2 separate regions of the Homo sapiens genome follow, and region 2 is linked to region 1. The links are contacts of gene promoters, found by promoter capture Hi-C in blood cells and fetal thymus (Javierre and others, 2016). All regions are on one chromosome and are shown on one strand. The core of a region is centred on a gene start or on the middle of the fragment in contact, and the rest is flanking DNA. Distances in the headings are between cores, read along the strand shown. Region 1 holds the start of ADISSP (adipose secreted signaling protein). Region 2 has its middle 4.8 kb from the start of RNF24.

Region 1 (5,350 bases), core at 545-3,044:
CAGGAAGAGGAGCTACACCCATTCACCTCTGGTCAGCATGCTCCCAACGTCTGAGACCTCATTTCTCATTCCTTCTTCAGTCCCCATTCTCATTGTGGTTCGAGGTCTTTCTCTCTGAGCCAGGAACTCCGCAACCTTCCACCCTCCCTACCTCTTCCTCTCCTACCCCAGCCTGGGGCTCAGTCCTGGCTCAAGCACTCAGTCCAGCAGAAGCACTGTGTAGCCTCCCATTAAAGCTCACGCCTGTGAAAAGAACAGCCATTGAGGCCTTGAGATGGGGCCACACTGACCCGCTGACTCTCAGGACTGGACACAGCAGAGGCCACACATACTCAGAACAAAGCCTGGAAAGGCAAGGCTGGAGGTCAGTAGTTGTGGCAGCTTCACATCAACTCAGCTTTAATGTGATTTAATTTCCTTCTCCCTCCAGTGGGCCAAAGGTGCAAAGATAAGTATGGCTGTTCTCTCTCCTTCTAACAGTGAGGTGCTGGGGGTGGGGGTGGGGGAATATGGAGAAGGGACCCTCACCACCCACACCTTCCTGCCTCCCCAACAAGTGCTGCCCTCCTCTGCCCAGCATTCTCCCCACTTTGCCCTCAGCTAGTGGGTGCTTAGCCTCCAGATAGCATGCCCCACCTAGGCCCTGCCCTGGGCCTGTGATCCAGAGGTCCCAAGAAGCAGAGGCCAGGCTGGATCCAGGGGGTCAGCCAAGGTGAGGGTGGGAGCACACAGGATTATCTCCCAGGGACAGGGCTGCTGCCTCGTAGCTCAGGATGGATAGAATGTGGGGGGATATCCAGCTACATTTTCCCTCCACAAAAGACCAGAATGGGAGAGGGATGGGGTGCTGCCCCGACTTTCTTCAACTCCCCGGAGCAGAAAAATGCCCTACCTCCACTTTCCAGTGCCAAGATTCAAGAAGAAAGGCAAGCGGAGACTTCCCTTTCTCAGTCCCTGCTTACTAATGGAAACACGGGTCCAGAACCTAAATCCAGTCCCTCCTCCTTCATACCACCGGGAGGGAGGTGCAGCCCAAGCCCCCGAGGCCCCAAGGGTCCAGGTGTAGGACCCTTTATCCTCTCCGGCAGCCATCCCTGTGGGTGTGGCACCCCCGCCACACCCCATTCTTGTCATCTCAGGGGGAGGGGGGAAATGTAATCGGACATCCCCCCCATCCAATCCATCCTGAGCTGCGAGGCGGCGGCTCTGTCCCTCGGAGATAATCCTGTGCACTCCCCACCTTCACTCACCTCGGCTGACGCAGGAGTCTCCGGAGCCCGCACTCCCAGACATCACTGCCCTCCTTCCTGAGGGTGCTGAGGCTCGGAGGCTCAGAGATGCTACTGGTCCAAGGTCATGCAGCGAGGCAGCGGCAATGAACAGGGTCGTGGGGAGGAGGGGGCGCTGACCCCATTACGCCCCCGCCCTCACTACCGCACTCATGCCCCCGGACAATCGCTTCGCGGAAAACACCCCAGCTGCACCAGCTAACGGTCACTGCGCCCCGGGAACCTGACATCACTCTAGTTCAGGTGCTGGGGAGTCCTCCAGGCCCGGCCCCGACAGCGGAGCCCCCCACCCCAGCCCTGCCATCACGGCCGCTGGGGTCCCAGGCACTGACTGCTCAGGACAGGGCCGGGACCGGGAGGGGACCTCGGCGAACGGGAAGGAACCGGGAGGCAGGGAGCAGAGGGGTGGCCTCACCTTGCGGGGTGCACCCCGGGGCCGGGGAGGGCAGGGACGACCACTGCAGCGGCGGCGGCTGCAGGAGCTCAACGCCGAGCACGAGGAAGGGAGCCCCGCGCCGCGGCCGCCCTCCCGTCGGCACGCCCCCGCCTCCGCCCATTGGTTGATCTGGGAGGGTGGGGCGAGGGACGCTCCGGACCAATGAGCGGGCTCCAAAGAACGGCCAACTGGCGAGGGCCGCCTACGTCACGTGCCAGGGTCGCCGAGGCAGCGCCCTGCTAGTCCGCGCCTGCCGGGCGAGCTCTCGCGAGGAAGACGGGCAGGCGGCCCAACTAGGCCAGGGGCCAGAACCGACCACTCGAAGAGGGAGAAGGAGGGCCTCGGATAGGCCCCGCCCCCGCTCCTTCTTCCGCCTGGGGGATAGCGCCTCTAGCCTTGAACCTTGCTTAGGACGCACCTCCCTTGGGCCCTTCGCTCTCGGGAGGGCTGTCGGGCGCGTCTCGGGGCTGGGTGGAGCTCCCGAAGGTGGCCTTTCTCCCTGGGCTTCCACGCCGGCTTCGGCCATCGATACGGGCCGTGTTGGTCTCGTTCAGGAGCTGAGGAACCCTCCATCACTCCTGTTTCGACCCCAGGGTTTGGACCTCTTCCCCTTCCACCCCATCCCCTGTCTCGAAAGAAGCAACCCCCGTGCGGGCCCGAGACGCGTCCCGGGTGCCTGGCCCGGCCTGGAGAAGCATCAGAACAAAGAAGGCACGCGGGCTGGGGGCTGGGAGAGCCTGTGACGCGCCCCCGGGGACCGCAGCCTCTGCTCCCGGTCTCCATGGAGGCGGTCGCCATGGCAGCGAGATGCGCCTCGCTCAGCACCGCGGGGTGGGATGTGGGCGCCTGCAATGAGCCGAGGAGCGAGAGGCGTGGCCCTCCGGTCTGCGGGGGTTCTTGCCGGTGCTCTCCGCCCGCCGGTTCGCGAACACCCCACCTATACTTCGCCCGTGGGGACGGATTCCCCAAAGTGCCCTCAGTAAGCCGTCCGGAGCACGCAGCGCCTTGCTTCCAACGGAACTAGAGAGACGGCCTGGGCGGCCGAAGGCCAGCCTCCCTTCAGCAGGGCCGGGGTCGCTGCCTTAAAGGAGCCCTCAAGTCTGCCACCCTGTGGCCCATAACCTGTCTGCTGATCTCCAGTCTGCACACTGTTGGCAAATTAATCTTTCTGAGCTCTTGTTTTCATCGCGTCCCTCTCCTGCTCCAAAGCCCTCTGGGACTGCCTCCAGTAGCGCTTCACAAACTTCAGCAGCACTTTGGGTGACTCATGTGCCCTCGCGTTTGAGAGACAGCGCTTACATTGAGAGCTTTTCACATTCTGATCTCAGCCCATCCACTCCTGCCCACTCTACCCACTCCCACCACACTACCTTTAGACCTTGTCTTGAAAGTCTAAAGTTGGCAGACGGTGGGCCCAAAGTGGCCCGTAGGTGTATTTTGTTTAGCTCACATGGGGCTTTTTAAAAGAAGTCCTTCCCCCTCCTGCCTCCTCCGCCTCTTTCTGGAATCAGGAATCTGGTTTCGTGGCTTTTGAAATATCAGAAGATCTGACAACATGGGCTCACTTTCCAGCCTGGCATTACAAGCCCCTTTAAGAGCACATAAATTTACCATAGTCCCCGCTAATCCCTGTTTCTCACGGTTAGTTACCTTCTGGGTCTGTGCAGACATTTGTGATCCCCTCCCCCTCATTATCCCACCTTCCAACCTGGAAGGCCCTCCCCGCTCTCTTCTCATAGCCAAAATTCAAGCCCTCTTCAACCAAGATAAGTTTTGCCTATTTATTTATTTATTTATTTTTGAGACAGAGTCTCACTCTGTCGCCCAGGCTTGAGTTCAGTGGTGCCATCTCGGCTGACTACAGCCTCCACCCCCTCCCCCGCCGGGTTCAAGCCATTCTCCTGCCTCAGCCTCCCAAGTAGCTGGGATTCTAGGTGCGCGCCACCACACCCAGGGCTAATTTTTGTATTTTTAGTGGAGACAGGGTTTCACCATGTTGGTCAGGTGGGTCTCAAACTCCTAGCCTCAAGTGATCTGCCTGCCTCAGCCTCCCAAAGTGCTGGGATTACAGGCATGAGCCACCGCGCCTGGCCCAAGCCTGCCTTTTTCAAAAGTCTTTCTAGCCAACTTCTCAAAACCATCTCTGGTGTGGGCTCTCTCAAACACAAACTGGCTGCTAACTGCACAGCCCGGGGTTATTTCCGAATTGTCAACTCCTTTCAGCAAACATTTACTGAATGTATCTGATGAGTAAGTTATTGTGCTAGGCTCTGTGGAGTGGAAGGCACTCACAGTTTAGTGTAGGAGGGACACCACACACAAAGAACTGTGGTCTCCTGTCCTTGCCAAATGTTCCTCACACTCCCAGGCATCGGGCAGTCTGGCCCACTGGGAGGAGCTGAAATACAGAGCTGCCCATGCCTAGGGATACTACATGCTCTCAGGGAAGGCCAAAGATGGTTCTGGAAAGCCTCCAGGAGAAAATTAGACTCTTTGTGTCAGGAGGAAGTCAGGGCAGGAGTTACCTGGCTGCCCCATCACTGCCCAATGTGTCTGTGTTACCACACGAGTAGTGCCCAGGCTCTGGGGCTTCCTGTGCGGAGGGCCTTACCAAAGATAGATGGCTCTGCAAGGGAAACCACAGGCCCCTACCAGGCCCCCTGGAGACAGAGGCAGGACAAGAAGAATCAGGAACAACTCCAGGTTAGGAGAACAGATGGAGCACGTATAAAACATCCACTCACGGCCGGGCGTGGTGGCTCACGCCTGTAATCCCAGCACTTTGGGAGGCTGAGATGGGCGGATCATGAGGTCAGGAGATCAAGACCATCCTGGCTAACACGGTGAAACCCCGTCTCTACTAAAAATACAAAAAATTAGCCGGGCATGGTGGCTGATGCCTGTAGTCCCAGCTACTCGGGAGGCTGAGGCAGGAGAATGGCGTGAACCCGGGAGGCGGAGCTTGCAGTGAGCCGAGATTGCGCCACTGCACTCCAGCTTGGGCGACTGAGCCAGACTCCATCTCCAAAAAAAAAAAAAAAAAAATCCACTCACCATGAGAACCTGGTGACTTTTAAAAAAAAACAAAAAAACACAACACTTGCTACAACTCCAAACACACGGTTTTTTGTTTTTTTTTTTATTTTTCAGAGACAGGGTCTCACTATGTTGCCCAGGCTGGTCTCAAACTCTTGGCCTCAAGCGATCCCCCGACCTTGGGCTCCTAATGTGCTGGGACCAGACCAGAGGCACAAGCCACTGTGCCCAGCCCTCTATTCTTTTTAATTAAAAATTAAACAACTATAACCTCATTGGAAAACTGCTTGGCAGTACCTAATAAAAATGATAAATGAAATGAGTAATTCCACTTTTTTTTTTTTTTTGAGACAGAGTCTTACTCTGTCACCCAGGCTGGAATGCAGTGGTGCGATCTCAGCTCTCTACAACCTCTGCCTCCTGGGCTCAAGCACTCCTCCCACCTCAGCCTCCCCAGTAGCCAGGACTACAGGCACATGCCACCACACCCAGCTAATTTTTGTATTTTTTTTTTTTTTTTGAGATTACAGGCATGTGCCACCACGCCGGCTAATTTTGTATTTTTAGTAGAGACGGGTTTCTCCATGTT
Region 2 (6,421 bases), core at 739-3,238, 250 kb after region 1:
GAAGCAAAAGTCATCATGGCAAGCGCCTAGAGGCATGTTCCTTCTGCTTTGGCAAACCATTAACCACCAAGGCAGGGAGGAAGTAAAGAGGGAAACATTAGTGAATTTCTCAAGAAGTCACCTGCCACCCAATGGTCACAGTCCCCCAAAGTGAGAGAAGGGTGGAGGCATGTGCTAGGGAGACTGTGGCAAAAGGAAGGGAGTGGGAGACCCAGGCTTCCTCTAGAGCTGCCTGTGCCAGGGCTGTGCTGGGGGAACACTGCCCTCCTTGCTGTCAATCATAGCAGTTACCTGGAGGGTCTTTTCAACTTTGCTTTGCTCAAACCTCTCACTGTTCTAAATCAGCCCCCTCATCTCTCCCCTGGGCTGTTGCAGAAGTCTCAATCCATTCTCATGCAAATCGATTCTCATGGTATTCAAATCTGCCTGTGTTTCTGTCTTTTTCTTTTTCCCTGCCCCATCTGGCTCCTTGAGCCTTATTTTCCAGCCATTTACAGAACAGCACCATGGTGTTTCACCTCAGTAGTCACCAAGGTGACTGCTGTTTCCTGCTGTTCCCCTACTAGGAAAGCAATACTTACCTAGCATGCAAAAGTTGCTCTTTTCTCTGAAAATCCACAGATGCTTTTTAGGGCAGTGAAAATACTCTGTGTATGATACCATAATGGTGGATACCTGTCATGACACATTTGTCTAAATCCATAGAATGAATAATACCAGCAGCAAACTCTAATGTAAACATGGATTTTGGGTGATAATGATGTGCCAATGTAGGTCCAACAATAGTAATAAATGCTCCCGTGGGAGAATGTTTATAATGGGGGGGCTATGTATGTGTAGGGGGGAAGGGCTAGTTGGGAACTCTGCACATTCCTCTCACTTTTGTGGCAAACTTAAAACTGCTCTAAAAAAAAGTAAAGTATTTACAAAGTCATTTTTGATAAAGTATTTTTTTCTGCCCCCACTTATTGACAGACTTTCCTTGAGAATCCCCACCTGTGCCCTGTACCCACTTCCCTCTCAGCACTAGGCACCCTCCAAGGTCCCTGCTCATTTGCATATTTTCTTACCACACCAGCATGTGAGTCCTTCATCAGCAGGATCAGTATCTCCCAGGACCTAATATGTGACTGGCACATAGTGGGTCTGCTGTGGCTATTGGTGGAGGTGATGTTCCCTGGTGGGCTGGGGAGGCTCCACAGGAGAAGGAAAGGCTGAGCTCCTTTTCTTTCTTCTTCCTTATTTTGGCTTCCTTCCTCTGCCCTGCGTTTGGAAACCTGTTTTGTTTGTTTGTTTAGAAAGCTTGGCTAGTAATTCACTAGTCCAATCAGGCTGTAGGGTAGAGGATGGAGTGGCTCATTTCATGTCTTTTGTTCTTGAAAAAATTAGGGGTGAGTGGGAAAGAGAATGAGAGAATGAACGGAAGGAGGAGGGGCCGTGTCCAGTTGCTGTTTTCAGGGAGACTCATCTTATTAAAATTTTGCTGTGTCATCAACTGGCCCAACTGGTTTTTAGGGTCAAGGAGAAAGTTTTCCTTTGGGACTGGACAGGTGGAATCTGGCCTCACAGTTTCTACAACATATGGCAGGATCCTGCTCTTCTGTCCCCTGTAGCGGGTTGTCCCGTGTTCCCCTTAAGGAAGAAATCACAGTTTTTGTCCTCCTGGTGCTTCCGGCTGGAGGTTCACCTGCTAGTCCCTGATCCTCTTTGCTTAGTGATGCACATGAGTCTACTCATCCCCCCACCACTCCCAGCCCCCACTGGTCTAGGCAAAATGCAAGTGATGGGAGAGTGTGGGTGGGCAATTCTTTCTCTGGAGGGTTTAGGTGGGTACCTCAAAACAGCAGGCAGCTAGGACTTGAAGTGGTGGCTTCGCAGCTAACATTTTCCTTGTTCCACATGATGGGTAGGGGTAGGGTAGGGAAGACTTCACTGTTTGGAGTTTCGGAGGATGCCCCTCTTTCTCTTTATCCTTCCTCCCCACAGTCCCCTCCCATCTCCTCCCTTATACCTCTTTTTTTTTTTTTTTTTTTTTTTTGAGATGGAGTTTCGCTCTTGTTGCCTGGGCTGGAGTACAGTGGCGCCATCTCGGCTCACTGCAACCTCCATCTCCCAGGTTCAAGCAATTCTCCTGCCTCAGCCTCCTGAGTAGCTGGGATTACAGGCATGCGCCACCACGCCCAGCTAATTTTGTATTTTTAGTAGAGACGGGGTTTCTCCATGTTGGTCAGGCTTGTCTCAAACTCCTGACCTGAGGTGATCCACCTGCCTCGGCCTCCGAAATTGCTGGGATTACAGGTGTAAGCCACCACGCCCAGCCCTTATACCTCCTTTTAAGCAATGTCCTCACCCCAAATCCATCTCAGAAAATTGTCCCTACCCATATGGTCAGAAGTCCTTCAAGACTCCTGGAAAAGAAATCACAACTACTTTTAAATCAAACGTCTGACTAATTTTGGAACAGTGAGAACAGGGGCTGGTTTTAGTCATCTTTGGATCAGGTGCCCAATACAAGTTTGTTGAATGAATGCCTGACTGGTCAAGACAAAATCAGTCTTTCAAACAGAAGCTAGAAATCAAAGGTTGCCTATAGCCCCATTCCTCTGTCCATCCTCCCCATCTGTTGAGATGGCACGATTTCAGAAAAACATCCCTCCCACTGGTCAATCCTTTGAAAGCTTAATTATTCAGAGTTCTAAATGACCCCTTTAAGGGTTGATCATATAATGCTTTGACCCGTTGGACTGTGCCAGTAGAGGAGGAGATGTTCTGTGTTCCCCGAGCCTCTTCATCCAAGAATTCCAAAGTGACTCCTCCTGCCTTGATCCCTCCCAATGGCCCTCTCCTCCTCATAGCCCATGGGGACCTCTTGCTGGGGCGTGACGCTGCCCACGGAGGGGTGGAATTGCTTCTTCTTTTTTTTTTTTTAGATGAAGTCTCTCTGTCGCCCAGGCTAGAGTGCAGTGGTGCAATCTTGGCTCACTGTAACCTCCGCCTCCTGGGTTCAAGTGATTCTCCTGCCTCAGCCTCCCGAGTAGTTGGGATTACAGGCACCTGCCACTGCGCCCAGCTAATTTTTGTATTTTTAGAAGAGACAGGGTTTCACCATCTTGGCCAGGCTGGTCTCGAACTCCTGACCTCAAGATCCACCCGCCTCGGCCTCCCAAAGTGCTGGAATTACAGGCATGAGCCACCGGAATTGCTTCTTAATGCAGAATGTGTGTGCAAGACTGTGAAACAGCAAGAGTTGGGGAGAAAGCGTAGGTTTCTGTGTGCATGGTACCTTTAGGACTGGCTGTGTGTCCACCCACAAGCCAGCGAAGGAGGTGGGAACCTGGGATTCTGTTTACCCAGCCACCAACAAGCCCCGTTGCCTTTCTGGCACACACAAGCCCAATCACCCAGAACTCCTGAAAATATAAATGTTCTCAAGATCTCATGTGGGAGCTTTTTAGCTGAGACCAGCCACACATGCAGGAGACTGGAAGCACTATTTCCCAGGGGTGGAACAACCTGCTCAGACTCACTTTTAGATTGGAGGATACCCATCTCAGCGTGGATTCTCCCAAGAACAGATCTTAAGACAAGGGCTTGGATGTAGGTAATTTACTTGGGAGGTGATTCCAGGAAATAAGAGTGAAGAAATGGGGAAAGCAAGCTGTGAAAGGGAGAGAAGCCAACAGTAAGGTATGCTGATGGGCCAGTTACTGCCATGGGCAACTGAGGCTCAGTCTGGCTTGGCGTCCACTGAGAAACCTTGTAGAACAGCCCTCAGCATTGTCTGCCTGGATGACCAGGAGGCCAGAGTATTTCTCCACTGACTTCAGTGTCTTGGTTGCTTTTCTTTTCTTTTTTTTTTTGAGACGGAGTTTCGCTCTTGTTGCCCAGGCAGGAGTGCAGTGGCATGATCTCAGCTCACTGCAACCTCCGCCTCCCGGGTTCAAGAGATTCTCCTGCCTCAGCCTCTCAGGTAGCTGGGATTACAGGCATGCGCCACCATGCCTGGCTAATTTTGTATTTTTTTAGTAGAGACGGGGTTTCTCCATGTTGGTCAGGCTGGTCTTGAACTCCCGACCTCACGTGATCCACCTGCCTTGGCCTCCCAAAGTGCTGGGATTACAGGCATGAGCCACCGCGCCTGGCCCTCTTTTCTTTTCTTTTCTTTTTTTGAGACAGAGTCTCACTCTTGTCACCCAGGCTGGAGTGCAGTGGCGCCATCTAGACTCATTGCAACCTCTGCCTCCTGGTTGTTCAAGTGATTCTTGTGCCTCAGCCTCCTGAATAGTTGGGATTACAGGCGTGTGCCACCATGCCCAGCTAAATTTTGTATTCTTAGTAGAGACAGGGTTTTGCCATGTTGGCCAGGCTGGTCTCAAAATCCTGGCCTTGAGTGATCTGCCCAGCTCAGCCTCCCAGAGGGTACTTTCAAGTTACATCTATGGAACAAAGCAAGCCGCTCTGCTAAGCTCCTCCAGTTATTGATTACACAACCCCCACAGCTGTGACCACCATTTGGCTACCACCATCATCACAGCTTCTGCCCCTCCAATTTCCCCCAGCCAATTATATCACTGCCTTTTCTCTCTGCTAGGTTCTGTTAGGCCTGAGCTTTAAAGAGAAAGGAATAAAGTGGAATGATATATCTTTGCCCATAACTCATTCTAGGAAAAAGGAACTATGCTGGTTTTCTTTTTCCTCCATTTCAACCTATCCAATCTACCCAAATAGTTCCCAATCATTATCACCTCATCCCAAAGCAACAGACGGGAAAGAGGAACAGGGCAAGAAAGCAGACAGGCTTTCTGGAGTGACTTTTATCCCCACAGAGTCATAGATGCAGAGTTGGAAGAGATGAATTCTCTCATTTGGGAGATAAGGACACCATGCAGATAAAGAGACTCTGTATCTTCTGCTTTTCCTGCTGCTGCAGTGCTTCCTCCAGGCAGGCTTCCTTAGTTTTTCTTGGCTTCCTACCCTTCCAACCTACGCCATCATAATCTGGACTCCAGCCCTTTATTCCCTCAAAGGCTGACTCAGGCCATGACTGAGGGAAGAAGCTTGGATTCTGTAGTGGAACAGCATTGTCCATGGGGAGACACGGCTTCCATCCCAGGCCTTTGGTTCCATTACTTAGTTTCTCACTTGCCTGTCTGTCATCCAAAGGGGCTCACAAGGAGGGGAATGCAGGGAGGAGACATCTCCCTAATACCATTGGAGTTTTTTTCCAGGTTAAGATGGTGCATTGAATCCACCCATCTACTTTTGCTCCTCCCAAAACTCACTAAAACTATTATAAAGGGATTTTGTTTAAAGACACAAACTCATGAGGACAGAGAGAACAGAGTAGACAATAGTGGGGGAAAAATAAGTTGGAAGATAGAAAACAGATGGGTGAGTGGTAATCGACTCAGCAGCCCCAAGAAAGCTGAAACCCAGGGAAAGTTAAGAGTAGCCCTATTTTCATGGCAAAATCCAAGGGGGGGTGGGGAAAGAAAGAAAAACAGAAAAAAAAATGGGAATTGGCAGTCCTAGATATCTCTGGTACTGGGCAAGCCAAAGAATCAGGATAACTGGGTGAAAGGTGATTGGGAAGCAGTTAAAATCTTAGTTCCCCTCTTCCACTCTCCGAGCAGCAGGTTTCTCTCTCTCATCAGGCAGAGGGCTGGAGATTTCACCTCCGGAGAGAGTAAAAAGGAGGATCTCTGGGCTGGGGCACCAGGCGTGGCTGAGGACAAAGGTGGCATGTGGAGAACAGGGGCGTTAAGTGACTATTTCCTCACTGCATGCTGAGAACCTCAGCTTTCTTCTCTGATCACTTCCCAAATCACTGGCAGCTACTCTCCACCTCTCTTCTCTGAGCACTCTGACCAGCCAAAAGGGAAAGAATGAAGGATACTGGCATTCAGATTTCCAGTAAACGACCATCCATGTCTCCCTACGGTGAATCACAGTTGACAAGCCCAGTTCCTGCACTCAGGGTTTTTCATAGTCCTTTACTCTTAATCAAGAGCAGAGAGCTAAAGATTATGTCTTAGGTTCCCTAGAAACAGAAGCTGTGATGCAGATTCAGATGCATGCGATTTATTGCGGGCGGGCCCTCAGAAGAAGCTCCTTTTTCCACCTCCAGAAAGAGCATGGAAAGGAACTGAGCAAGGATGTGGTCTTGGCTGGAGTCTAGCCTCAGTCTGACCCACAGGGAGCCCTGGAGCATGAATTGCACCACAGGGTTGATCTCACCTTGAAGCAAGAGGGCCAGCTTTTGTATCCATATATTGATCAATCACTGGCTGTGGGCTGCCAGGGAGGAAGCCATGAATTCCCAGGCAAGGTAGTTCCTACTTGAGGACAATTCTTTAGATAAAGTGGCAGCTCTGGTCTATTTATGACCGAGATTTATAGCAGCTGAAGGTATGGGCAGAAC

What was found. The method cuts DNA at HindIII sites, captures the fragments that hold promoters and counts their contacts. A CHiCAGO score of 5 or more calls a contact.
Region 2: a contact is called between a fragment that was not itself captured here and the fragment with the promoter of ADISSP in region 1, in 1 of 17 cell types (naive CD4 T cells). The highest score is 5.1, in naive CD4 T cells.

What each region holds. Positions count from the first base shown.
Region 1 is chr20:3,765,959-3,771,308 of GRCh38, forward strand. ADISSP (adipose secreted signaling protein) reads right to left here and starts at 1,795. Exons shown (of 6, transcript NM_001258429.2): 1 at 1,705-1,795. RefSeq lists enhancers at 940-1,704, 1,832-2,418, 3,080-3,129 and a silencer at 1,690-1,929. The HindIII fragment of the contact is 5,584 bases long and covers 1-5,350 here.
Region 2 is chr20:4,017,112-4,023,532 of GRCh38, forward strand. No RefSeq gene overlaps it. Among named protein-coding and RNA genes, the nearest start is that of RNF24, 4.8 kb to the left of the region's middle. RefSeq lists an enhancer at 1-174. The HindIII fragment of the contact is 1,376 bases long and covers 1,301-2,676 here.